Regions from separate parts of the Homo sapiens genome. Here all the other regions are linked to region 5. The links are contacts of gene promoters, found by promoter capture Hi-C in blood cells and fetal thymus (Javierre and others, 2016). All regions are on one chromosome and are shown on one strand. Each heading gives the region's core, a stretch centred on a gene start or on the middle of the fragment in contact. The rest is flanking DNA. Distances are from core to core; before and after follow the strand shown.

Region 1 (3,371 bases), core at 335-2,834, 7.7 Mb before region 5:
ACAAATCAAGACTTCTCTACCATCATGAGACTCTTACCTCTTAATTTTTTCCTTACATATGCCTCTATAGACAATAAAAATAAATAAAAGTCTTATATGCACTCATAGAATATAGTTTTATTTATAAAAGATTTCAAAGCCAGTCTTCTAACAAACAACCTTGTGCCTTAATAAATTAAAAAATAGGCTGGGTGCAGTGGCTCATGCCTGTAATCCCAGCACTTTGGGAGGCCAAGGCAGGCAGATCACGAGGTTAGGAGGTCGAGACCATTCTGGCCAATATGGTGAAACCCCGTCTCTACTAAAATACAAAAAAATTAACCAGGCATGATGGCGGGCACCTATAGTCCCAGCTACTCAGGAGGCTGAGGCAGGGGCATCACTTGAACCCAGGAGGAGGAGGTTGCAGTGAGCCGAGATCGCACCACTGCACTCCAGCCTGGCAACAGAGCAAGACTCTGTCTCAAAAAAAAAAAATTAAACAATTAAAAAACCCCAATATAGATAACTGATGTTAATACCTTTATTACCTCATAATCAGTCAAAAACTTTAGTCCACTCCTCTTAACCAATATCATAAATTTAAAAAAAAACATTGCCAGGAGGCCTTCAGTCTTGTAGATACAGACATCATTTATTGTCTCTTTTTCCATAATTTAGAATAAATGAAGCAATGATTAGAAATTTATCCCTCATGGCCAGGCATGGTGGCTCACACCTGTAATCCAACACTTTGGGAGGCTGAGGCGTGTGGATCACATGGTTAGGAGTTCGAGACCAGCCTGGCCAAAATGGTAAAACCCTGTCTCTACTAAAAACACACACACACACAAAAAAACAAAAAAACCTGGGCATAGAGGTGCACGTCTGTAATCCCAGCTACTCAGGAGGCTGAGGCAGGAGAATCACTTGAACCCAGGAGGTGGAGGTTGCAGTGAGCCGAGATTGTGCCACTGCACTCCCGCCTGGCAACAGAGTGAGACTCTCTCAAAAAAAAAAAAAGGAAAAAAAAAGAAATTTATCCCTCATGGCCGGGCGCGGTGGCTCACACCTGTAATCCCAGCACTTTGGGAGGCCGAGGTGGGTGGATCTCCTGAGGTCAGGAGTTCAAGACCAGCCTGGCCAACATGGTGAAACCCCATCTCTACTGAAAAAAAATATACAAAAAATTAGCTGGGCATGGTGGCGGGTGCCTGTAATCCCAAAAACTCAGGAGGCTGAGGCAGGAGAATCACTTGAACCTGGAAGGCAGAGGTTGCAGTGAGCCAAGATTACACCATTGCACTCCAGCTTGGGCAACAAGAGCAAAACTCCATCTCAAAAAAAAAAAAGGCCGGGCATGATGGCTCACGCCTGTAATCCCAGCACTTTGGGAGGCTGAGGTGGGCGGATCACAAGGTCAGAAGATCGAGACCATCCTGGCTAACATGGTGAAACCCCGTCTCTACTAAAAACAGAAAAAAATTAGCTGGGTGTGCTGGCGGGCACCTGTAGTCCCAGCTACTCGGGAGGTTGAGGCAGGAGAAAGGCATGAACCCGGTAGGTGGAGCTTGCAGTGAGCCGAGATCGCTCCACTGCACTCCAGCCTGGGTGACAGAGCAAGACTCCGTCTCAACAAGTAAAAAAAAAAAAAAGAAAGAAAAAGGAAATTTATCCCTCATAGTAGACTCTATAGCTGACTCTACTGCAAAGGCCATGGCACAACAGACTTTAAGTTCTCTTGCTAAAGTTGTGCTAGATAACGGAATTGCTGTATATTACTTACTGAGATACAGAGAAGTATGTATCTCTGTATGCAGATACTTCTCTGTATCTGCATACAGAGAAGTATGTATCTCTGTATGCAGATACAGAGAAGTATCTGCAGTTGCTCACACTTCTTGTTGCACAGAGATGAACATATCAGGTATTATAGAGATTCAGTTACAGGGGATTAATAAACAAGCTGCTTGGTTAAAACAGCTTGATCTTTTATCTAGCTCTTTCTTTGATCTATTTGATTTTAGTTAGTTTAGTTCATGTTGACCCTGGCTAAGGGGCATACTCCAAAGTCTTGGTATTATCCTCTTGGTAATCTTAATAGTAGTCTCCTATGTGCACTAAGGACTTTCAAAAGTTTTAAATGTTTACATACAATCATCCATAAAATGTCCATAAAATTTAAATAAATAAAAATTCCAACATAATAAAAAAAAAGTATCCTCTACTCTAACGCTTACCAGAAAATAACCTAAAGTCCTTATTCGCACCTTACAAAACCCACTGTTGTACTATTTCCCAATGGGATTTGCGACCAGATAAGTACATTTACAATGGTCAGAAAGTAATGTCAATGTCTAGGATTTTGGTCAACCTCTCTATTTTGGTCAAGTTGAGAGGTTGAACAAAAGGGGAGAAATTGTTAAATTGAGTTTAGCCTAAAGTTGCCTCCTTATAAGTTCAGCCTAAAGGTTTCTCTGTACACAGTAAATTGTAACCTAACTGGATGTATAAATGGTCTATAACCTATTATAACAATCGCTGAGTTTTGGCTAATTACAGGAGGCCAACTGTTCAAATAATACACTCAACCAATCAAGCTGTTTTTATATCTCACTTCTGTTTTCCGTACATCACTGTCCTTTTTCTGTCCATAAATCTTCTTCCACCATGCAACAGTGTTGGAGTCTCTCTGAACATATTCTGGTTCGGGGTGGCTACCTGATTGACAAATCTTTTTTTTGCAAAATTAAACTCTTATATTTAATTTGTCTAAAGTTTTCTTTTAACACTATCCTTCTTTTATATTTTGGTCTCTTTATGACATTACTATTTAGCGCTGCTTGATACTTCTATTTTTTTTCCAGACAGGGTCTCATCTGTCACCCAGGCTAGAGTGGCATTATCATGGCTCACTGCAAGCCTTGACCTCCTGGTCTCAAGTGATCCTCCCACCTCAGCCTCTGGAGTAGCTGGGACCACAGGTGCAGGTCACCATGTCTGGCTAATTAAAAAAATTTTTTTGGCCAGGAGCGGTGGCTCATGCCTGTAATTCCAGCACTTTGGGAGGCTGAGGCAGGCAGATCACGAGGTCAGGAGATCGAGACCATCCTGGCTAACACAGTGAAACCCTGTCTCTATTAAAAATACAAAAAATTAGCCTGGTGTGGTGGCGGCCGTCTGTAGTCCCAGCTACTCGGGAGGCTGAGGCAGAAGAATGGTGCGAACCCCGGAGGCGCAGCTTGCAGTGAGCTGAGATCGCACCACTGCACTCCAGCCTGGGCAACAAAGCAAGACTCTGTCTCAAAAAAAATTTTTCTTTTGTAGAGGCAGGGGTCTCGCTCTGTTGCCCATGCTGGTCTCAAATTCCTAGCCTCAAGAGATCCTCCCCT
Region 2 (3,519 bases), core at 22-2,521, 6.3 Mb before region 5:
TTGACAAATAGAATCTTAGTTTGTTCATTCTGAGCATCAGTCTCTGCCAGGCACTGTGCTAGACGCTGTCAGAGTAGGACAAAGTCCTTTAAACCAGTGGTTCTCAAACTCTGCTGCATATTAGTCACTGGGGCTTTTAAAAATCCCCATGCCCAGACACCATTGCAGGCCAGTTACATCAGAATGTCCCATGGTGGGATCCAGGCATCAGGATATTTACTTATTGACATATATTTTTTGAGACAGTCTCCTTCTGTTGCCCAGGCTGGAGCAGAATTTTTTAAAGTTCAAGAGGTAGTTGCAAAAGCAAGCCAAGATTGAGAACCAGAAGACTAAAATATCAGTGGATTCTGGCTAAAGAAACAAATACTCTAGTACCTACAAAAAACTAAGCCTAGGCCGGGTGCCGTGGCTCACGCCTATAACCCCAGCACTTCAGGAGGTCGAGGCAGGCAGTTCACCTGAGGTCAGGAGATGGAGACTAGTCTGCCCAACTTGGCAAAACCCCGTCTCTACTGAAAATACAAAAAATTAGCCAGGCATGGTGGCAGATGCCTGTAATCCCAGCTACTCAGGAGGCTGAGACAGGAGAATCTCTTGAACCTGGGAGGCGGAGGTTGCAGTGAGCCGAGATCTTGCCTGGGCGACAAGAGCGACACTCCGTTTCAAAAAAATGATAGTAATACTAAGCCTATTAGTTTGATGCTCAGAGAACTGTTATTTTTGCTTTTTTCTCTACATTGTATGAAATATTTATTTGTGTTACTTATGATATTTACTTAAGGAAATACTTAAAGGGAGCTGGTGAGTCAGAGCAGTCTTTCCATCCCCTCACCAATGGTTTGTTCTCAATTATTTGCACTAATGCAAGGATACATGCAGGGATAATGGGAAAGATGGACTAGTAAAGCTTTATTAATCCTTTCTGTATTTGTGTAACAGAACGCATTTGTCAAATTGAATAATGAAGTCATGTCCTTGGGTAGTACACATACACTGCAAATATTTATGTTATCTAACTGAACTAGGGTCCCTTCACCTGACACAGTAAGGCCAAATACCCACACCAAGGTTTGCAGAGGGAGAAAGAAGGGTGTTTATCTGTAGGGTACCAAGCAAGGAGAATCAGGTAGCTCCTCCTTGATGGCTGGCAAGTAAGGGTTTTTAAAGGCAGCTGGGGGCCAGGCGCGGTGGCTCACACCTGTAATCTCAACACTTTGGGAGGCCGGGGTGGGAAGATTGCTTGAGCTCAGGAGTTCAAGACCAGGCTGGATAACACATACCGTGTCTCTACAAAAAATTAAAATTAGCTGGGTGTCCCAGCTAGTCGGAATAGGCTGAGATGAGGGGATTACTTGAGCCTAGGAGGTCGAGGTTGCAGTGAACTGTAATTGTGCCACTGCACTCCAGCCTGAATGAAAGAGCAAGACCCTGTCTCAAAAATAAAAAGTAAAATAAAGGTGCGTGGGGCAGAGGTTACAGGCAAAGTCATAAATCAATACATGGAGCTACACATTGGTTTGACCTAAAAAAGCAGGACATCTCAAAGTGGGGGAGGGGGACCCACAGGTCATAGGTGAATCAGAGATTTTCTTTTTTGCAATTGGTTAAGGAACTTTAGACAAAGCTTTGTCTAAAAATTTGGGGTCAGTAGAAAAGAACGTTAGTTCTCAGCCTGGGCAGTATAGGGAGACCCCATCTCTACAAAAATAATTTAAAAATTAGCTGACCATGCTGGCACAGACCTGTGGTTCTAGCTACTTGGGAGACTGAGGTGGGAGGATTGCTTGGGCCTGGAAGGTGGAGGTTGCAGTGAGCCATGATTGTGCCACTGCACTCCAGCCTGGGCAACAGAGTGATACACTGTCTCCAAAAAGAAAAAATAAAAGAAAAAAAAAGAATGTTAGTTCTGATTTGCAGACATGACTTTCAGGCCCCTCTGAAAGACGTTGAAGAACAGTGGTCAGAGTTCAATCCTCAGTTCCTCCTTATCTGAGGTCTATATGCCAGTGGATACATTTCGTGAGGGTCTGGGTTTTTAAAAAACAACTCAGGGACATAGTTAAGATGCATCATTAGTTTCTATAGGGACCATCTTCTGACTCTAACTTCCTTGGCTTTTTATTTTTGATTTTTTTTTTTTATTTTGAGGTAGAGTCTTGCTCTGTCATCCAGGCTGGAGTGCAGTGGCACAATCTCAGCTCACTGCAACCTCTGCCTCCCAGCTCAAGTGATCCTCTCCCTCAGCCTCTCAAGTAGTTGGGACTACAGGTACATGTCACAATGCTAATTTTTGTATTTTTTGTAGAGACGGGATTTTGCCATGTTGCCCAGGCTGGTCTCGAACTCCTGAGCTCAAGTGATCTGCCTGCCTCAGCCTCCCAGAGTGCTGGGATTACAGGCGTGAGCCACTGTGCCCGGCCTTGGCTATTGTTTTAAGCTACTATTACCTTCTTGCTTATTAATTTGCTCATTTACTTCTAAAGGCTGGGAAGGTGCCTGGAATTTCCCTTGAAGGAACTCAAGATTTTCTGTTATTTCCATGCTTGGGAGATCCACAGGCCTTTAAGAGAGGTCCCTGCTCTTAAATGATTTTGTAAAGGTCCCTTTACACCAAATGATTCATTTTTAGCAGTTGCCTAAAAGTTTTTAGTTTATTTTAAAAAAGGTTTTTTTTTGGTAGAAACAGGGTCTTGCTACGTTGCTCAGGCTGATCTTGAACTCCAGGTCTCAGGCAATCTTCCTGCCTTGGCCTCTCAAAGTGCTGGGATTATAGGCAAGAGCCACCACGCCTAGCCACCTAAAAGTTTTTTGTTTTTTTTTCTTTTTTTTAAATTTTTTGGGGGTCACGTAAAAGTTTTGTACCTTCTCTGGAAACTCTTATTCCTGAATATTACAACTACATTTGCATGAACGTGAGCTACCCACCTATTCTGTGTGTTGGGGTGATCAGACCCAACACTAAGCTGTGGGTGCTACGAAGTCCAGCAGAGTCAAAGGAATGAGAAAAGACAAGAGAGAAAGTGGGACCAGGGGGCCAACGCTAGTATGGAGGCTGCAAAGGCCCTGAGCTCTGGGAGCCCACGCTATTTATTGGTGATAAAACAAAGAAACAGGTGGTGAGGATGTGGGGGTTGGAAGGAAGTGGCGTATCAAGCGAATGAGCTATAGCTGTGAGAGTTTAGCATTTTCTTTGAAACATATGGCTACTTGAGATAATGGGAGTGCTAAAAGCAAGGAGCCCGCAAGTCTAGACCCATTCCAAAGGCCACGAGGGGTTTTAGACCCTGGACCCCTGACATGTTCCAAGCCCTGCCTCAGGTTCTCTCCCAACACTCAGCTTTTCTCCCAACACTGTGGACATATCCTGCCCAGCATCATCCTACAGTGTTTACTGGTCACCTGATATGCACAGCACATTGTGCCAGAACAGAGAGGATAGTCATTTGGTTTTACAGACTGGTTACAAAGATTAAGACAAAAAACAAATAGGTGAAATTTATGAACTTAATGTTGAGA
Region 3 (3,611 bases), core at 313-2,812, 7.6 Mb before region 5:
AAATTAGAATTATACATCTGTTCACTTGAGTATATAGTGTTTATTTTTCTGTCATTAAATAGAATTTTTACTCGAAGTTTTGGAAAGAGCAATAGATTTTAGACTTTTACATGTGATTAATCTGAAATGTGGAAGAATAACTTATTTCTACCTTTTCATTTGATATATAAGTTTAGAATCTATAAGGTTTTACCTTCAGGTAGTCCTGTCTCTGGCACTTGTGACAATTCCCTGTTTGTTTTTATATTTAGTGTTTGGATAGGCAATCACTTATTTGAGAGTTAAGTTTTATATTTGAAAGAACCTTAATAACTTATTTGGTAATCTGTTGTAGACATAAAAATAACAGAAGAAACAATGTAGGGGCAAGGATATTCACTGTAACTTTATTTCTAAAGATAAAAAAGGAAATAACCTGAATTTTCCTTACTTGTGGAATAGTCGATTAAGTTCTGTTACATACATACCATGGAATGAATTAGTACACATATACACCCTGTTTAAAGCAACATGTAGGATGTGCATTTATTGGCCTGGGGGAATGCCCATAATTTATCATGGTTGTTCTTAAACCAGATAAAGATATTTCATATCGATAAAAGTCATAATCCACCATCTGTAGTAGTGATATAGTAGACTGACATTAATTGATACTGTGCATCTAGCATTGTACTAAATACATGTGTTAACCTTATTCAGTTCTCACAGTAACTCTAGGAGAGATTTATTCATTTATAGATTAAACTTAGAGCAGTTAATTACCTTGCTCAGTGTCCATTTGGAAAGCTTAGGTTTTAACAAAATTTTTTTGAAGTATTACAGTAATGTGCACAAATCTTAATGAATTTTTACATATATATTCCCTTGAAACTACTACCTATTTCCATCTTTTCCAGTACTCCAGCAGGCTCCCTTGTGCCTCTTTCTCAGGTGATACCTCACTTGAATATAATCAATGTAAGGGCAGGTGATTTTCTTGTCCTTTATTCTGCTTACTGCAGTATTAATGTTGAGTATTTTCTTGGTTCTGGAATTGTGTTCATTTATTTCTTGATTTTTTCTAGTCTTTTCAGAAAAAAGGTAGAAAGCTGAACTGTATATGTAGACATGTTTAAAACAACATACATTTTAGTAATTTTAAAAAATATGGGCCGGGCACGATGGCTCACGCCTGTAATCCTAGCACTTTGGGAGGCCAAGGTGGGCGGATCCATGAGGTCAGGAGATCAAGAGCATCCTGGCCAACATGGTGAAACCCCGTCTCTACTAGAAATACAAAAATTAGCCAGGCATGGTGGCACACACCTGTAGTCCCAGCTACTCAGGAGGCCAAGGCAGGAGAATCACTTGAACCCGAGGCAGAGGTTGCAGTGAGCCAAGATCACACCACTGCACTCCAGCCTGGGTGACAGAGCGAGACTCTGTCTCAAAAAAAAAAAAAACAAACTTTTTTTTGAGTAATTTTAAAGGAACTGTACTTTTATGTACCCTTTTAAAAGAAATTATAACTTTCAAAATAATACCTATATGAGTATCATATATAATATAGTGTGTTGTGCTTTGCACAGACTGTATCTTAGCATTTATCATCTTGACAAAAAGTTTTAAACCCAAAATTTTCCATGAATCCTTAAACAAGTTTTTAATTTTCTATAAATGTATATTTTCTTCCTTCCCTTCCTTTTCTTTTTCTGCTCCCTTTCTCTTCTCCCCCTTTCTCCCCCCCTCCTCCTCTCCCTCCCCCTCTCCCTTCTTTCTCCCTCTCTTTTTGGTCTTGCTCTGTCACCCAGACTGGAGTGTAGTGGTACAATCATGACTTATTGCAGCCTTGACCTCCCAGGCTAAAGTGATCCACCCACCCTAGCCTCCTGAGTAGCTGGGACTACAGGCACAGGACACCATGCCTGGCAAATTTTTAAAAAAAATTTTCGTAGAGATGGCGGATCTCACTATTCATTGCCCACGCTAATCTCCGACTCCTGGGCTCAAACGATCTTCCTGCCTTGGCCTCCCAAAGTGCTGGGATTATAGGCGTGAACCACTGAACCTGGCCTTTTTTTCTTCTTTCCTCCCTCCTCCCTTCTTTTCTTTTCCTTTTATTTGTTTGTTTTTAGAGACAGGATCTTGCTATGTTGCCCAGGCTGTTTTTGTACTCCTGGGCTCAAGCAGTCCTCCTGCCTCAGGCCTTCTGAGTAGCTGGGATGTAGTCCTTAAAGGTATATTTTTCTAATGAGAGGATTCATAGCTTTTTCTAGATTTGGACAAGGATTGGACCAGACTGAGACATTTCTGAGTATCTTTCACCCTACCTCTTTGTCTACTGAATAATAGAAGCTTGCTAATTTAAAGTAATAAGACAAACAAAGATCCAGACTAGCAAAGTATCTTCAGCTCACTAGACTTGCTTTTCTTTTTCTTTTTAATTTTATTATTTATTTATTTTTTGAGACAGGGTCTCACTCTGTCTCTTAGGCTGGAGTGCAACGATGCAGTCTTGCTCACTGCAACCTCTGCCACCCAGGCTCAAGGGATTCTCCTGCCTCAGCCTCTGGAGTACCTAGGACTATGGGCACATGCCACCATGTGTGGCTAATTTTTGTATTCTTAGTAGGGATGGGGTTTTACCATGTTGGTCAGGCTCGAACTCCTGGCTTCAAGTGATCCACCCACCTTGGCCTCTCAAAGTGCTGGGATTACAGGTGTGAACCACCACTCCCAGCCGAAATGGTCATTCTTGATGAAGAATATTTGCCACTATGTAATGCTGTAAAGAAAATAAAAATCAAATTTGGTATAGTCTTCACTTTGTCAGTAGAAATTGGAGCAAGTTTTCCTAGTTGTATTGATGTCTTAGTGTCATTTTTTGAGTTCTTTTTGAACCTCAGAGGGACTGAGTTTAAAAACTTATTTGTGTTTAAGGCTGGGTGCGGTGGCGCATGCCTGTAATCCCAGCACTTTGGGAGGCTGAGGTGGGCAGATCACGTGAGGTTAAGAGTTCGAGACCAGCCTGGCCAATGTGGTGAAACCATCTCTACTGAAAATACAAAAGTAGCTGAGCATGGTGGCGCACGCCTGTAGTCCCAGCTACTCGGGAGGCTGAGGCAGGAGAATCACTTGAACCTGGGAGGTGGAGGTTGCAGTGAGCCAAGATTGCACCACTGCACTCCAGTCCCCCGCCCCCGCCCCCTGCAAGAAAAAAAGCAACCTGTGTTTGTGTTTCCCTGGTTATGCCTGAATAAGAAGAGGAGTTAAGTCCCTGACTTTAACTCTGGAGTAAAAACTGTAGTCCCAAAATGGAGCCACCAGAGGGTGGAGTACACATAGCTGGCTTTCCCTTTGGGCAGAGATCTGGCTGGAATAGGCTGCCTTTTGTCTTAACAGCTGGGGGCTGAGCCTGTGATGCTTCCACACCTGATAAATATGAGTGAGACTTCTGATCTTACCCCCTTGCTGACTTGCTACTGCTGGATCAGCCCCTAACTCTTCAAATGAAAAGAATTTCTCCTTGTTAGTCCCCAAATACATTTTCATTTGGAGACCAAATTCTACTTGGAGAATACGCTGCTAAGAATGTTAATTAACCCACCTGTAATCCCAGCATTTTTGGGAGG
Region 4 (3,636 bases), core at 401-2,900, 5.8 Mb before region 5:
TTTTAAAGGCACACTGATGGACAAAGATTTGTTTTTAAAACAGCACACATTTTTAAAAGCAAAAACATCTTGTGAGATCATTACAGCATACTGTTTTAGGATTCACAGGAATACTGCCATTATTACATGGAATGATTCTATAACTAAAGAGCTGACCATTTTGTCAGGATTCAATGCATAATAAAAGAAAATAAAGACTTTATCTGGTTTATTTAACCCACAATATCTACAATATTCAATGATCCTCTCCAGTAATTAGACAAGAACAAAGCTATTTCCATTGCAAAGACACTTTAATGAAGACAAGCAACTTATTTTATCCCTAATGAGTATTTTTATTTAGTATCCTTTAACCTCTTATGGGAAAGTTTAAATGAGATCAGTCAGAGCTGTGATGGTTTCCTAAAGTGTTGCTTAATTTGCATATTAATTAACTATAATCATAAAGTTAAATCAAGAGCCATGAAACCAAATGAATCATTAATCCAACCCCACCCAAATTCATCATGTGCATGAATTTAGTATATTCTAACTAATGCCTATGTATGCAATGATAATTTCAATTCTTACTATTCCTTCGTATCAGAATATATTTCTCAAGTTCAATTAAAATGGCATCTTGTGAATTTTACTTCTATTGCTGTCATCTGTCTTTTTTCATTTCTCATTTGAAAAATAATAAAACTTTCATAACTCATATGGTTTTTGTATATTAACTGGTCTGTCTTCTCTTATTCAATGTTCCCTAACTAGTGAGTTAACACTGGAGACAGACCTCTGTAAGAGTTACTTGTACTTGGAAGAAATACTCAAGAAACTAAAATCTTCCTCAAAGTTCTTCCTAAGTTATCCATCCAGCCATTCATCTCCCAATTGTTGATGGCTGTCATGATGCTCACATATACCATTTCTTCCATAAGCATTATCCCTTTTCTTCATCAACTCTTCCCTTCTTCTATAAAGAATAATATGACATGTGTATTGAAACTGGGATTATGATGTTCACTGCACATGTGATCTTACTGACATCACAGTCAAATCCAAAATTTCAAAGTATTGCACAACAGAGACTTACTGTACTATTACTATTATGACCAAAACATAAAATGTGGTTACCATTAAAGATAAAGGATCTGTCTTAATATTCACTGTGCACTCACTATGTTCCTAATACTGTGTAGGATATTCTAGAAAGATTAGAAAAATGTTCTTGCCTTAAAGAATCTTTTGCCTCCCTACAATAATAGTAGTAAGTTATTATTATATTCATTAGAGGAAAAATGAGCACCAAAATTTAAATAATCATAACAGTACCTTACCAACTTTGGCAAAGAACAAATAACTTAAGTCTCCTTGAGTGTTTTTACATGCACAGGTGTTAAAATCTTCAAAATGGCTCTGGCCTAGTTAGCCAAATAAACAGTCCTAAGTAAAATTTAGTTTGTTTTGTATTAATAAAACCTGTACCTAGACCTCTCACGTAAGACACAGATGATCAATTGTGATTTCTGAGAGAAGTAGGCCTGGAATTTATTTCTTTCTCTTTTTTTTTTTTTTTTTGTGAGATGGAGTCTCACTCTGTTGCCCAGTCTGGAGTGCAGTGGCGCAATCTCGGCTCACTGCAACCTCTGCCACCCGGGCTCAAACAATTCTCCTGCCCCAGCCTCTCGAGCAGCTGGGATTACAGGTGCCTACCACCATGCCCAGCTAATTTTTGTAGTTTAGTAGAGACAGGGTTTCACCATGTTGGCCAGGCTAGTCTTGAACTCCTGACCTCATGATCCACCCTCGTGTAACCCAAAGTGCTGGGGTTACAGGCGTGAGCCACCACACCCAGCCAGCCTGGAATTTTTCTTAACAGTCAATATATCTCAGAAAAGAATCTCCATTTGAGGAATTCTACAAGAAATACACTAGAGGCGTTAAAAATAGCTTAAATCACTCAGTTGGACCATCATCCAAATAGAGCCTAATTTGAGCCATTTATATTACTCTCTGGCAGGTACACATGGGATTTTGTGAAGATGGGATACAGTACGTATACCCACCCTAAGACACTTGGTTTAAATATTAAGTTTGAATTCTGTAGAAATACTGGCTGACTAAACAGAGTTTGAAGAAAGACAGTCCTAGATTTAAATTTTTCTTCAACAAAGAATTAACTATGACAGAAATGCAATATATGCAAAATTGCTACATCTACACAAATAAACAACAAAATACCTCAAAACCAGGATTGACAATCTCTACAAATATATCAATACAGCAAACAGTCCATGCCCAGGGTTTTCCTAAATTCCTCAGCTCAGACCTCCAGTTCCAGTATTCTCTTTCCTGCTTTCAAGAAGTATCAAGCAACCAATGCCTTCTTTATGCCAATTTTAATATACAATACTTTAATAGTTGACAAAAAGCCATAGTTTAAAACCAGTCATTTTGCATTTATCTGATTATCATTTGTCTCCTTAAAGACGATGTCTCTCTCTTCTCTCCCACCCACTTTCTTGTATTTTTGGTTTCTGTAGAAAAATTAAATCTCTGGACAATTAGTACCTTAAAACAAAGTTGTCAAAGTTACTCTAGTCAAGGATGACTCCACCTCAAGGGTTCAGCCTTGAGATAATTTTTTTAAATCTCAAGTGAAAAGAAAAATACCTTCCCTTTCTCTTTCCTAGAGGCACCTCCCGCTATAAAAGAACAGGCAACCCCGTCAGGTGAATAAGACACCTGGTTAGCCAAATTATTGCTGAAATGCCGGGCGTGGTGGCTCACGCCTGTAATCCCAGCACTTTGGGAGGCCGAGGAGGGTGCATCACGAGGTCAGGAGTTCGAGACCATCCTGGCTAACACGGTGAAACCTCGTCTCTGCTAAAAACACAAAAAATTAGCCGGGCATGGTCGCGGGCGCCTGTAGTCCCAGCTACTCAGAAGGCTGAGGCAGGAGAATGACATGAACCCAAGAGGTGGAGCTTGCAGTGAGCTGAGATCGCGCCACTGCAATCCAGCCCGGGCAACAGAGAGAAACTCCATCTAAAACAAACAAACAAACAAAAAAATTATTGCTGAACTTTATTACTTACGTACATATTGTCAACAATCCTTTGACCAACAAGGATGAATCTTAAAGAAAATGCTCAGCCAAAAAAAAAAAAAAACAAAAAAAGAAAAAAAAAGACACAAAAGCCACAATTCCATTTATCTGAAGTTTAAAAATAGGCAAAACTAAATTGTATTGTTTAGCAATGCACACAGAGTTTACCACCTATGAGAAAAAGGAAGGATGTCATCACTATAAAGTCAGGGGGTGGAAGGGATTGAGAAACACACCAGGTCGTCTAAGGTAGTGGCAATGATCTTGATCTGGGTAATAGTCACATGGGTGTTCACTATACTTTAGATTTATATTTTTCAGGATGCGTCATACTTCATCATAAAAGAAAATTGCTTTAAAAACTGAAACTGAATTATCTTTTCTCCTCTAATGAAATCCTTTGCAGAACTCATTTCTTTGCTCTTGTTTATAGAAACATTTAAGACTTATTTTCAAAGAATATAACTGTACAAGAGTGCTGCCTCCCATAGTTCTGTACTCCATTTCTGATGTGGGTTACATAAATAAGATGTATAATAATTTAC
Region 5 (3,100 bases), core at 168-2,667:
TTCAGAAACAACTTCAAGAGGAATCATTCCCATGCCAATTGCAACACCAGTAGCCACTTGATCAGCTTCTGACTGAGGATGCCAGCCAGAATCCTTCATGGCTAATTCTGCAGCCCCAATGGCCATGATGGTGGGAGAAGACATGGACTTGATATCTGATTTGGACACAAAGTTTTGTTCATTGAACTGACCTTCATCACTACCTCTTGGCACATAAGCAGCAACACTGCAAGGGATACTCTTATACTCTTCACCAACCAGTGAAACAATTCCACTCTCTCCTCCGATAAGACGATCCCAAACCAGGTGAGTTCCAACACCAAGAGGAGTCACTAAGCCAATGCCTGTAATGACAACTCGCCTATGCAATCTGGATATTGGCACAGTTCCGAAAAACTTCCTTTTACTTCTTAACTGTTGGCATAATCTTGAACATAGAAGACGAGTGCTTGTAATTTTCAGGAAATTTTGCAGGCAGTTGGACATGATTAAGATTCAGATGATCAGAAACACATTCCTGTAAAAGACCACAACACACCTAGGAGGTATTCTTTTAAATAGCTTAAGGGCCTAAGGAAAAACATCCAAGGTGTTCCTTTGGGTGCTTGATATGAGCTGCTAATGAACACAGGGAAAATGTTACATACTTTCAATTTATACCTTAACATCAAACTATCTGTTTAAACTTACCTTCTTTTTTAGACCTTAAGTGCCGTCAGACATTTGAAGACAAATAAATGAATTGATGATTCATTCGAGTCACCAAAACAGTAATTCAATGAAAAATATAAAGGCACCTCCAGCCTGATTTGAGCTGCAGGAAGCATCCTTTGTCAGGATTACTGATAACTTCTTCTAAATAGCATTTCTGGTGTCAGTGGCACAGAAAACACATTTCAGGGCATATTCTTTTAAGTAAGTAAGTGGGCTTTATCAATCTTCAGTACTTAAGGATAACCAGCCTTTTCAAAACGCTACCCAGGGCCAAGAGCCCTAGACTGAGCGTCTGGATACATGGGTTGGCAATACACTCTGTGACCAAGCTTGCGATGGGGGAAGGGGACAAGTCTTTCCACTCCTCTAAACTTCTCCAATTGAATCATTGGTGGAAGGAGGGGTTACGACTAGTGGATCACTTCAAGGGTACTACGAAGGCCAGGGGCGGGAGTAAAAGAGTGTAGCCATTCCCTGTATCGCCTCTCAGGCACCACCACACATGTACACAGCCCGAAGAAGCATGGCGAGAGAAAAAGAAATCAGGCCCCAGGTCCTCGGACTCCCCTCTCGAAATTCAACCCCGACTTGATTTGAATGTAAAGGAGGAAAGGAGGGGCGAAGGAGGAGGGTAGCCAGCGATACCTGTAACGGGGCTACCCCGGACACTTCTCCACAGTCGGGGGCGATGACGCTCTCGAGCGCACGCGCACACGCACGTACGCTCATGCGCGCTCGCACGTACGCTCATGCGCTTTCCCACGCACGCGTCCCGTTCGACTCTCTTTCCGCCGGTTGACTTTAAGCCGCGTCACCTTGGCTGAGGTCAGACCGTGGGAGGCGGCTGGGTAGCTGTTTGCGTGAGCAGAGACGCCCCTCTCGGAACCTCAGTGACTCGCCGATAATCGAGGACCTGCCAATAACGCGATGAGGTAGCATTTTCACCCATCAAAAAGGCATTTTTCTTTGGCAGTGATAATGCCCAAATATTCCCTTTTGTCGGAGAAGGGACACCATCGTATTCTACTGGAATTGTAAGAAAGAATTAAGGAAATTCTCTGCAGTTTCAAAGTTATTGCTATAGCTCGCAACGTTATTAGTAATTGTGAGTAAAGTGGAATTAACCAAAATGGCCAACATCAGGAAATTTGTTGTGTATCTTGTGGTACATCCAAATGCCATGCAGCCGTTTAAAATAATTCTGCAGGTGAATATTTATTAATGAGATGTTGCGACTATTTGTTAGGAGACATAGTTACAAAACAGTATATATCCGTTTTTTCAAAAATAATTCTTTAAAGGTCTGCAAGATGTATACTGATTGTGATCTTTCCCTCCTTATTTTTGCTTAGCTTTATTTAATAAAGCTTTTCTACAATAAACAAATGTTTTTGTAATAAAGTTTTTACTTTTTAAAAGTTGTCACCAGGCTGTTCTGCCTATGGAGTAGTCATTCTTTGTTCCTTTACTTTCCTAATAAACTTCCTTTCACTTAAAAAAAAATTATCACCAGATTTGAGACAGTGCTCAAAAATTGTCTCCATTGTCACAATGGAGACATTTGTTTCTAAGTGTGAAAAATTCATTAACTGTTTGCTTAGAGCTGACTGCAAACCGATAAAGGGAAAATATAACATGAAAATGTAAAAAAGCAAGAAGTCGACAAGATGGTATTCATCGAACATCTGTTTTTCACATGCTATCCCAGGCGTGAGTTTTGTCCTTGCTCTTCTTTAGAAAAATGGTTGAGCATAGAATCTTCATCTGGACCTTCTAGTCATATTTATGGTTTTTTCTGGGCAATGCCTCTTGAAGCCATTGTTTCCAAGTAGAGTGCTCTGCATTCTTTCCTACCCCTACAGAAGAATGTGAGTCAAGCTTAGCTTTCCAGGTTGGTCCTGGATTTAAATGAGTTTGGAAATCTATTTTGTTTAAAATAATTCAGCAAAGCTCAGTTTGACCTTCGTCCCAGGCCTAACCAGTCACCTCTAGTTGATCCTCATTCAGTGACAAAGTAGAGTTTCTTGAAGAATTAAAACAAACACATGTGGTTATAAAGTAACACTTGATGAGTAAGTACCTAAACTTGATCTCTTTTCATTGCTGTCTTTAAAATAATAGTGTGAAAATACCTACAATATTTTCTCTGAAGCTGAACTCATAAGAAACATACAGTTTTAATGTGCTATTTCTTTTGTAATATCACAAAATCGTCTTGGCTAAGAGGTGACAAAATCTTTCAGAAAAATAAAAAGACCATCATTTTTGTATCTACCTCTTATCACCTTTTCTTTGATCTGGAAAAGGGTGGGAAATTTTATGATATTTAATGGCTTTACATATTTGGTACCATATTTCCTGCTACAATTCCATCGTGTCTTCTTGC
Region 6 (3,173 bases), core at 582-3,081, 6.9 Mb before region 5:
GCTAGGACTTCAGGGTCACGCCACCATGCCTAGCTAATTTTTTTTTATTTTTTACGGAGACAAGTCTGGCTATGTCGCCTAGGCTGGTCTTGAACTCCTGGCCTCAAGCGATTCTCCCACCTCAGCCTCCCACAGGTGTGAGCATCTATGCCCAGCCTTAAATTATGTGTTGAGTGTCTCTTGTCAGATATTGTTCTAGGGACTAGAGCTAGAACACAACTAACACAGACAAAAGTCTCTATCTTCGGGGAGCTTGTATTCAAGGGGTCTGCTTGATGTTCTTTAGACATTTTCCAAGCAAGGGTTCTGTACATTTGCATATTTGTTGCTCCTCTTACCTGGATCATTCTTCCCAACACAGCTGGCTCTTTATCCTTAGGGTTTCTGTCTAAATGTCAACTCTAAGAAAGCCCTTCTCTAATCTATCTGAAAAACAAGGCTTTCAGTCATCCTCTATTCTTTTTTTTCTTTTTCTTTTTTTTTTTTTTTGAGATGGTGTTTTGCTCTTGTTGCCCAGGCTGGAGGGCAATGGCACGATCTTGGCTCACTGCAACCTCTGCCACCTGGGTTCAAGTGATTCTCTTGCTTCAGCCTCCCGAGTAGCTGGGAATACAGGCGTCTGCCACCACGACCAGCTAATTTTTGTATTTTTAGTCAAGACAGGGTTTCAACATGTTGGCCAGCCTGGTCTCAAACTCCTGTCCTCAGGTGATCCACTCACCTCGGCCTCCCAAAGTCCTGGGATTACAGGTGGGAGCCACAGGCACCCGCCAGCAGGCCCTGCTAATTTTTTTGTATTTTTAGTAGAGACGGGGTATCACTGTGTTAGCCAGGATGGTCTCGATCTCTTGACCTCGTGATCTGCCACCTCGGCCTCCCAAAGTGCTGGGATTACAGGCGTGAGCCACCACGTCCGGCCTTTTATTTTATTTTTTTGAGAGAGGGTCTCATCCTGTTGCCTGGACAGTGGCGTGATCAAAGCTCACTGCAGCCTTGAACTCCTAGGTACAAGCAATCCTCCCACCTCAGCCTCCCTAGGAGCTGAGACTATAGGCACACACCATGATATCTGGCTTTTTATTTTTTAGAGTCAGGGTTTCACTTATGCTGCCCAGGCTGGTCTCAAACTCCTGGCCTCAGGCAATCCTCCCACTTCAGCCACCCAAAGTGCTAGGATTACAGGTGTGAGCAACTGCAGACAGCCTCTCTTACTCATTTTTTTCTTCTGAGTATTATTTTTTTTTTTGAGATGGAATCTCACTCTGTCACCCAGCCTGGAGTGCAGTGGTGCGATCTCGGGTTGCTGCAACCTCTGCCTCCCAGGTTCAAGCAATTCTCCTGCCTCAGCCTCCCAGCTAGCTGGGATTACAGGTGTGCGCCAGCATGCCTGGCTAATTTTTGTATTTTTAGTAGATGGGGTTTCACCATGTTGGTCAGGCTGGTTTTGAACTCCTGACCTCAGGTGATCCACCCCCCTCAGCCTCCCAAAATGCTGGGATTACAGGTGTGAGCCACTGCACTTGGCCTTCTTCAGAGTATCTATCACAACTTGAAATCATCTTATTTTTCATTTTATTTACATGCTTATCTGTCCTTCATAGTAAATAAGCTCCAGAACAGAGACTTTGTTTTGTTCCTGCCCAGTTCCTAAAGTAGTACCTGGCAAAACAGGCCATTGGTGAATATTTACTGAATAAATTAATATCACAACATTAACTCATCTTAGGTGGTCTCTAGGCTTCCTGTCTTACTTCATTTAAATCCACCACCTACAACAGTCAGTGTGATCAGATCACTCACCTTAAGTCCTTTCATGACCCTTTTTTCTTACCTGATGAAGAACACACACACAAGACCCTCCGTGACAAATATCCTGACCTCGTGAGCTCAGAGAGGAAGCAGCATGTAAGATAGACTGAATGAATAGTGTTCACCAGACGGAGAAGAGAAAGGACACTACGGCTCAAAAGCTCAAAAAACACAATGCTTTGCAACAGTAATTTATGATGTGAAGAGCTGGGTGGGTTGATACAGAAATCCAGCTGGAAATAGATTTTGAAGATGCTCACAAACCACATTAGAGTGAGGACGGCAGGGCGCGGTGGCTCACGCCTGTAATCCCAGCACTTTGGGAGGGCGAGGCAGGCGGATCACAAGGTCAGGAAATGGAGACCATCCTGGCTAACATGGTGAAACCCTGTCTCTACTAAAAAATACAAAAAAATTAGCAGGGCGTGGTGGCGGGCGCCTGTAGTCCCAGCTACTCGGGTGGCTGAGGCAGGAGAATGGCGTGAACCCGGGAGGCGGAGCTTGCAATGAGCCGATATCGCACCACTGCACTCCAGCCTGGGTGACAGAGCGAGACTCCGTCTCAAAAAAAAAAAAAAAAACAAAAAAAAAAAACCGTGAGGACTTAAAAGGAGAAAGAAAATACAATAAAAATTAAATAAAAAGAATGATGACTTGATGCCCAAAGCATGTACAGTCTTAGAAACTTTATAGGAAGGGGAATGACAGGATTCAATGAATGTCTTAGGACATAAAAAAAGCGGGGGGCGACAGTGAGGAAAATGGATGGGATAGGAAGAGACAAGAGACAAACACCAGTGAGAAGACTACTCAATGCGACATAGATCATATTAAAAGATAAAGGCCAGAAACACAGCAGATGAGATGGAGATGAGCAGAGATTCAAAGGAGCTACACTAAACACTCATCTATTTTATTCAAATTTAACCTTATATCAAAGCAGGAAGTTTCCTTCAATATGGCCTATAAACTTAAACCAATGAAAAAAACAGTCCCCTAATCACTGTGGACCTTATTCTTCAACTACACACATTACACAGCTCTTACCAAACAGGAGTGCAGCTAGGATATGCCTGTCTCCTCCAACAGACTGAACAGCAGGTCTTCAAAGGCAGGGAGTGTGTCATATCCATTATTCAACACTCAATCTTTGCGAATGAATAAATGAACAAGTAGAAGGCTTTATGACTGAGGATTTGAAAACTGGATGGGCTTTAGGTCTAAAAGGGTGATTTCGGGCAAGCGCAATGGTATGAGCAAGTAGGAATGGTAAATGTGGGGAACACAGACACTATTCTAAAATAAGGAGGAAGATGTTGGTCCCCTGGTCCAGCCTTGGACAGGCCATGCCGTTTTCCTGTCTA
Region 7 (3,470 bases), core at 858-3,357, 5.8 Mb after region 5:
CTGGCATTAACATCCTCCCAGTCACCCAGACTTGGAACTGCAGAATCAGCTTCACCTCTTTCTTCTCCTCACAAACCATTGTCCATTCTATCAACAAATTATCTAATCCCCAAATTTGAAGTCTAATCCCAACACCTGGTCCATGGTAGTGTTTATATAAACTGAAATTAATGCATACTGCTGTTCTTTCTGTCCATTCTTTACATTTTAGCCACTCTACTAAAAAATGTTCAATGCTATGTCATTACTTGACAGTCTAAAGTTCTTTAACTCTAGTCCCAACCCAAGTTTCTTTCATTCTATTTCTATAGAATTCCTCTCCCCATACTCTTTATTTGTTCCCTGATCACACGTATCTGGTCTGTGTTCCCTGAATATTGCCTGTGTGTTGCCATCTTGGTATCTGATCACTTTATTTTCTCCACATGGAACACTATCATTGCCCATAACTGCTGGCTCCGTCTTAGCCAGGACACCAGTTCCTTTGGACCGCATCTGCAGATACTTCTACTGGATTCAATTATTATTTTTTCTGTAATTTCACAATACTTTGCCTTACTCTGTATAATGGCTGTCTTAAAATCTGCCTTATTTTAATAGCTAATGAGCACCTGGACTTTTCTCCTTAGCCTTTCATTGAATTATAAGGTTTTTAAGGGCTGTGACCATCAGTTATTCATCATTTCAGTTCTTCACAGAAGACCCTTGACTGCTATAATAGGGACCCCCAAAGTATTGGTGAACTTAATTACATTTAGAATCACGAACATTAAGAAGACCTCACAATGAAAAACATTTGATGCTGAAATTTATAAATTGCAAAAAACTCCCTATTTCATCGTTCCAGTATGTTGCTTCTTCACTCGTTCCTGTTTAGTGATTTTGTCTTCACCTCCTTCATGAATACTTTTCACAATATTTTACAGTTTAGTCATAATGTTTGCCTGGAAGAGTGCTGCCCTGGTGGCTGGCATTTCTAAAGATCCGGTAGTAGTTTTAGAGAAATTGAAATGACACAGTAAAGCTCTGTTGTTTTATTGCCACTTGCAATATGCCTATGTTTTCTTTTTCATAGCCCCAGATAACTGAGGAGGACTGATAATTGTATATATTTTAGTGTCAAATGTGGAGTCCTACCAGTTGATAGAACTTGTTAAGGAAGGTACAAAATGGATAAATAATCATGAAGACTTAAACACTGTCTTTGATGCTTATACTGCCCTCAAATCTCTAAATACTCAATAACAAATTCCCAGTGGCAGGTGTCTCTCTACCATTCACAGGATCCCATAACCTTTTCCTTCTCTTCCAGGAAATCTGTCCTCCCTTGTGTAGCTAAAGAATGAATCTTTGCATAGATGATAATGAATGGTTACATTTACTTTTAACTGGAACTGTCTGGAGACAATTCAAAATTTTTCCTGGAGACAAACCAACGGTAACTCTAACATTGGCGTAGTAGCAAGTCAGTGAATAAAAGGCTGTGAAAACTTAAGCTAGTCATGTTTCAAAAGCTTGTGTCTTTGGAGGGCATCATTCAGGCTTCAGCTCAAATGTCATCTACCTAAGGGACTTCTAAGCCCACTAATTCTAAATGCTTTGTTACATATCGAAGTAGTCTGTTGTCTTCATAACAGCACTGTTTGATATGATATTATGCATTGTCTTCATAACACTTAGCACCATTTGATATGATATTACGCATCGTTCCACTTAATGGTTATCTATCCCTACTAGAATATAAGCTCCATGAGATAGGGGTTGGGTTATACAGTCAGTCCATCTGCTTGTGATTGGTTCTTGGACACTCCCTTATTCCCCCACCATATGGGTACCAAAATTTGCAGATGCTCTAGTCTCATGTAAAATGGTGTAGTATTTGCATGTAGGCTATTCTGTATGCTTTAAATCATCTTCAGATTACTTACAATAAGTAATACAATGTAAATGATATGTAAATAGTTGTATTTTTTTAATTTGTATTATTTTGTGTTTTTTTCATTTTTTAACTCAAATACTTTCGATGGAATACAGAGGGCTAACTGTATTCCCAACACTGACACAAAATAGGGAGGGACTCAATACCTGTTTGTAGAATGAATGAATGAATTGAATGAGCCCTTACCTGGATTTACATACTGCAAAGTCATTTGAAGAATTTATGGGGATTTATTGAATGCTGTGGCCACTTTTGGGGTTCCTATGTCTTTCTTCAGAATCCAATCCGGCCTACATGCAAACAACCCTGTTTAAAGGACCTGCAGTTGGTATTCATCTTGGCACCATCTACTCTTGTGTGGGTGTTTTCCAGCATGTAAAAATAGAGGTAATTGCCAATGATCAGGGAAATTGAATCACTCCAAGCTATGTCACCTTTACTGATACTGAACAATTGCTCAGTGATGCCACAAAGAATCAAGTTGCAATGAACCCCATGAACACAGTTTTTGATGCCAAATCTGATTGCTGATTGGACACAGACTTGATTATGCTGTTGTCCAGTCTGATATGAAGCATTGGCCCTTCATGGTAGTGAATAATGTTGGCAGGCCCAAGGTCCAAGTAGAATACAAGGGAGAGATAAAAAAAACTTCTGTCCAGAAAGGTGTCCTCTAGGGCCATGGACTGGTACTGGACTGTGGCCTGTTAGGAACTGGCTGCCCAGCAGGAGGTGAGTGGCAGCAAGTCAGTGAAGCTTCATCTGTATTTACAGCTGCTCCCCATCATTCACATTACCACCTGAGCTCCCCCTCCTGTCAGATCAGTGGCAGCATTAGATTCTCATAGGAGTGTGAACTCTATTGTGAATTGCACACACAAGGGATCTAGCACTTCTTATGACAATCTAATGCCTGATGATCTGTCACTCTCTTCCATCACCTCCAGATGGGACCGTCTAGTGGCAGGAAAACAAGTTCAGGGCTCCTACTGATTGTACATTATGGTGAGTTATATAATTATTTCATTATATATTACAATGTAATAATAATATAAAGTGCACAATAAATGTAATGTGCTTGAATTGTCCTAAAACTATCTTCCCCCGATCCTACCCCCTGCAACTTGGTCTGTGGAAAAATTGTCTTCCATGAAACTGGTCCCTGGTGCCAAAAAGGTTGGGGACAGCTGCTCTGTTATTCTGACAAAGATGAAGGAAATGGCAGAAGCCTACCTTGGAAAGAGTGTTACCAATGCTGTGGTCACAATATCAGCTTGGTTTAATGATTCTCAGCATCAAAGCTACCAAAGATGCTGGAACTATTGCTTATCTCAATGTACTGAGAATTATCAATGAGCTAACTGCTGCTTCTATTGCTTATGCCTTAGGCAAAAGGTTGGAGCTCAATGAAATGTGCTGATCTTTGACCTTAGAAGTGGTACTTTTAAATTTTTATTTATTTATTTTCTTGAGATGGATTCTCGCTCTGTCACCCAGGCTGGAGTGGTGCGATCTCGGCTCACTGCAATCT

What was found. The method cuts DNA at HindIII sites, captures the fragments that hold promoters and counts their contacts. A CHiCAGO score of 5 or more calls a contact.
Region 1: a contact is called between a fragment that was not itself captured here and the fragment with the promoter of OXSM in region 5, in 3 of 17 cell types (activated CD4 T cells, total B cells and total CD8 T cells). The highest score is 7.6, in activated CD4 T cells.
Region 2: a contact is called between a fragment that was not itself captured here and the fragment with the promoter of OXSM in region 5, in 2 of 17 cell types (activated CD4 T cells and monocytes). The highest score is 6.6, in activated CD4 T cells.
Region 3: a contact is called between a fragment that was not itself captured here and the fragment with the promoter of OXSM in region 5, in 1 of 17 cell types (activated CD4 T cells). The highest score is 10.4, in activated CD4 T cells.
Region 4: a fragment that was not itself captured here is called in contact with the fragment with the promoter of OXSM in region 5 in 1 of 17 cell types (activated CD4 T cells); the score reaches 6.9 in activated CD4 T cells.
Region 6: a contact is called between a fragment that was not itself captured here and the fragment with the promoter of OXSM in region 5, in 2 of 17 cell types (fetal thymus and total CD8 T cells). The highest score is 10.1, in fetal thymus.
Region 7: a fragment that was not itself captured here is called in contact with the fragment with the promoter of OXSM in region 5 in 6 of 17 cell types (non-activated CD4 T cells, activated CD4 T cells, total CD8 T cells and 3 more); the score reaches 9.8 in non-activated CD4 T cells.

What each region holds. Positions count from the first base shown.
Region 1 is chr3:33,442,704-33,446,074 of GRCh38, reverse strand. No RefSeq gene overlaps it. Among named protein-coding and RNA genes, the nearest start is that of UBP1, 4.0 kb to the right of the region's middle. The HindIII fragment of the contact is 4,305 bases long and covers 1-3,371 here.
Region 2 is chr3:32,102,010-32,105,528 of GRCh38, reverse strand. No RefSeq gene overlaps it. Among named protein-coding and RNA genes, the nearest start is that of GPD1L, 2.9 kb to the left of the region's middle. The HindIII fragment of the contact is 717 bases long and covers 913-1,629 here.
Region 3 is chr3:33,420,877-33,424,487 of GRCh38, reverse strand. The region is part of intron 2 of UBP1 (upstream binding protein 1); the gene reads left to right. It also overlaps a transcript of FBXL2 not described here. Among named protein-coding and RNA genes, the nearest start is that of UBP1, 18 kb to the left of the region's middle. The HindIII fragment of the contact is 1,548 bases long and covers 789-2,336 here.
Region 4 is chr3:31,540,992-31,544,627 of GRCh38, reverse strand. The region is part of intron 1 of STT3B (STT3 oligosaccharyltransferase complex catalytic subunit B); the gene reads right to left. Among named protein-coding and RNA genes, the nearest start is that of STT3B, 9.9 kb to the right of the region's middle. The HindIII fragment of the contact is 5,509 bases long and covers 1-3,636 here.
Region 5 is chr3:25,788,407-25,791,506 of GRCh38, reverse strand. OXSM (3-oxoacyl-ACP synthase, mitochondrial) reads right to left here and starts at 1,417. Exons shown (of 3, transcript NM_017897.3): 1 at 1,360-1,417; 2 at 1-517. The coding sequence starts at 486. It also overlaps a transcript of NGLY1 not described here. RefSeq lists enhancers at 1,120-1,189, 1,200-1,269, 1,409-1,938 and a silencer at 1,372-1,591. The HindIII fragment of the contact is 1,038 bases long and covers 1,046-2,083 here.
Region 6 is chr3:32,686,670-32,689,842 of GRCh38, reverse strand. All of the region lies in intron 1 of CNOT10 (CCR4-NOT transcription complex subunit 10), which reads right to left. Among named protein-coding and RNA genes, the nearest start is that of CNOT10, 3.1 kb to the right of the region's middle. The HindIII fragment of the contact is 4,533 bases long and covers 1-3,173 here.
Region 7 is chr3:19,942,092-19,945,561 of GRCh38, reverse strand. It overlaps a transcript of EFHB not described here and the pseudogene HSPA8P18. Among named protein-coding and RNA genes, the nearest start is that of RAB5A, 3.3 kb to the left of the region's middle. The HindIII fragment of the contact is 1,181 bases long and covers 1,517-2,697 here.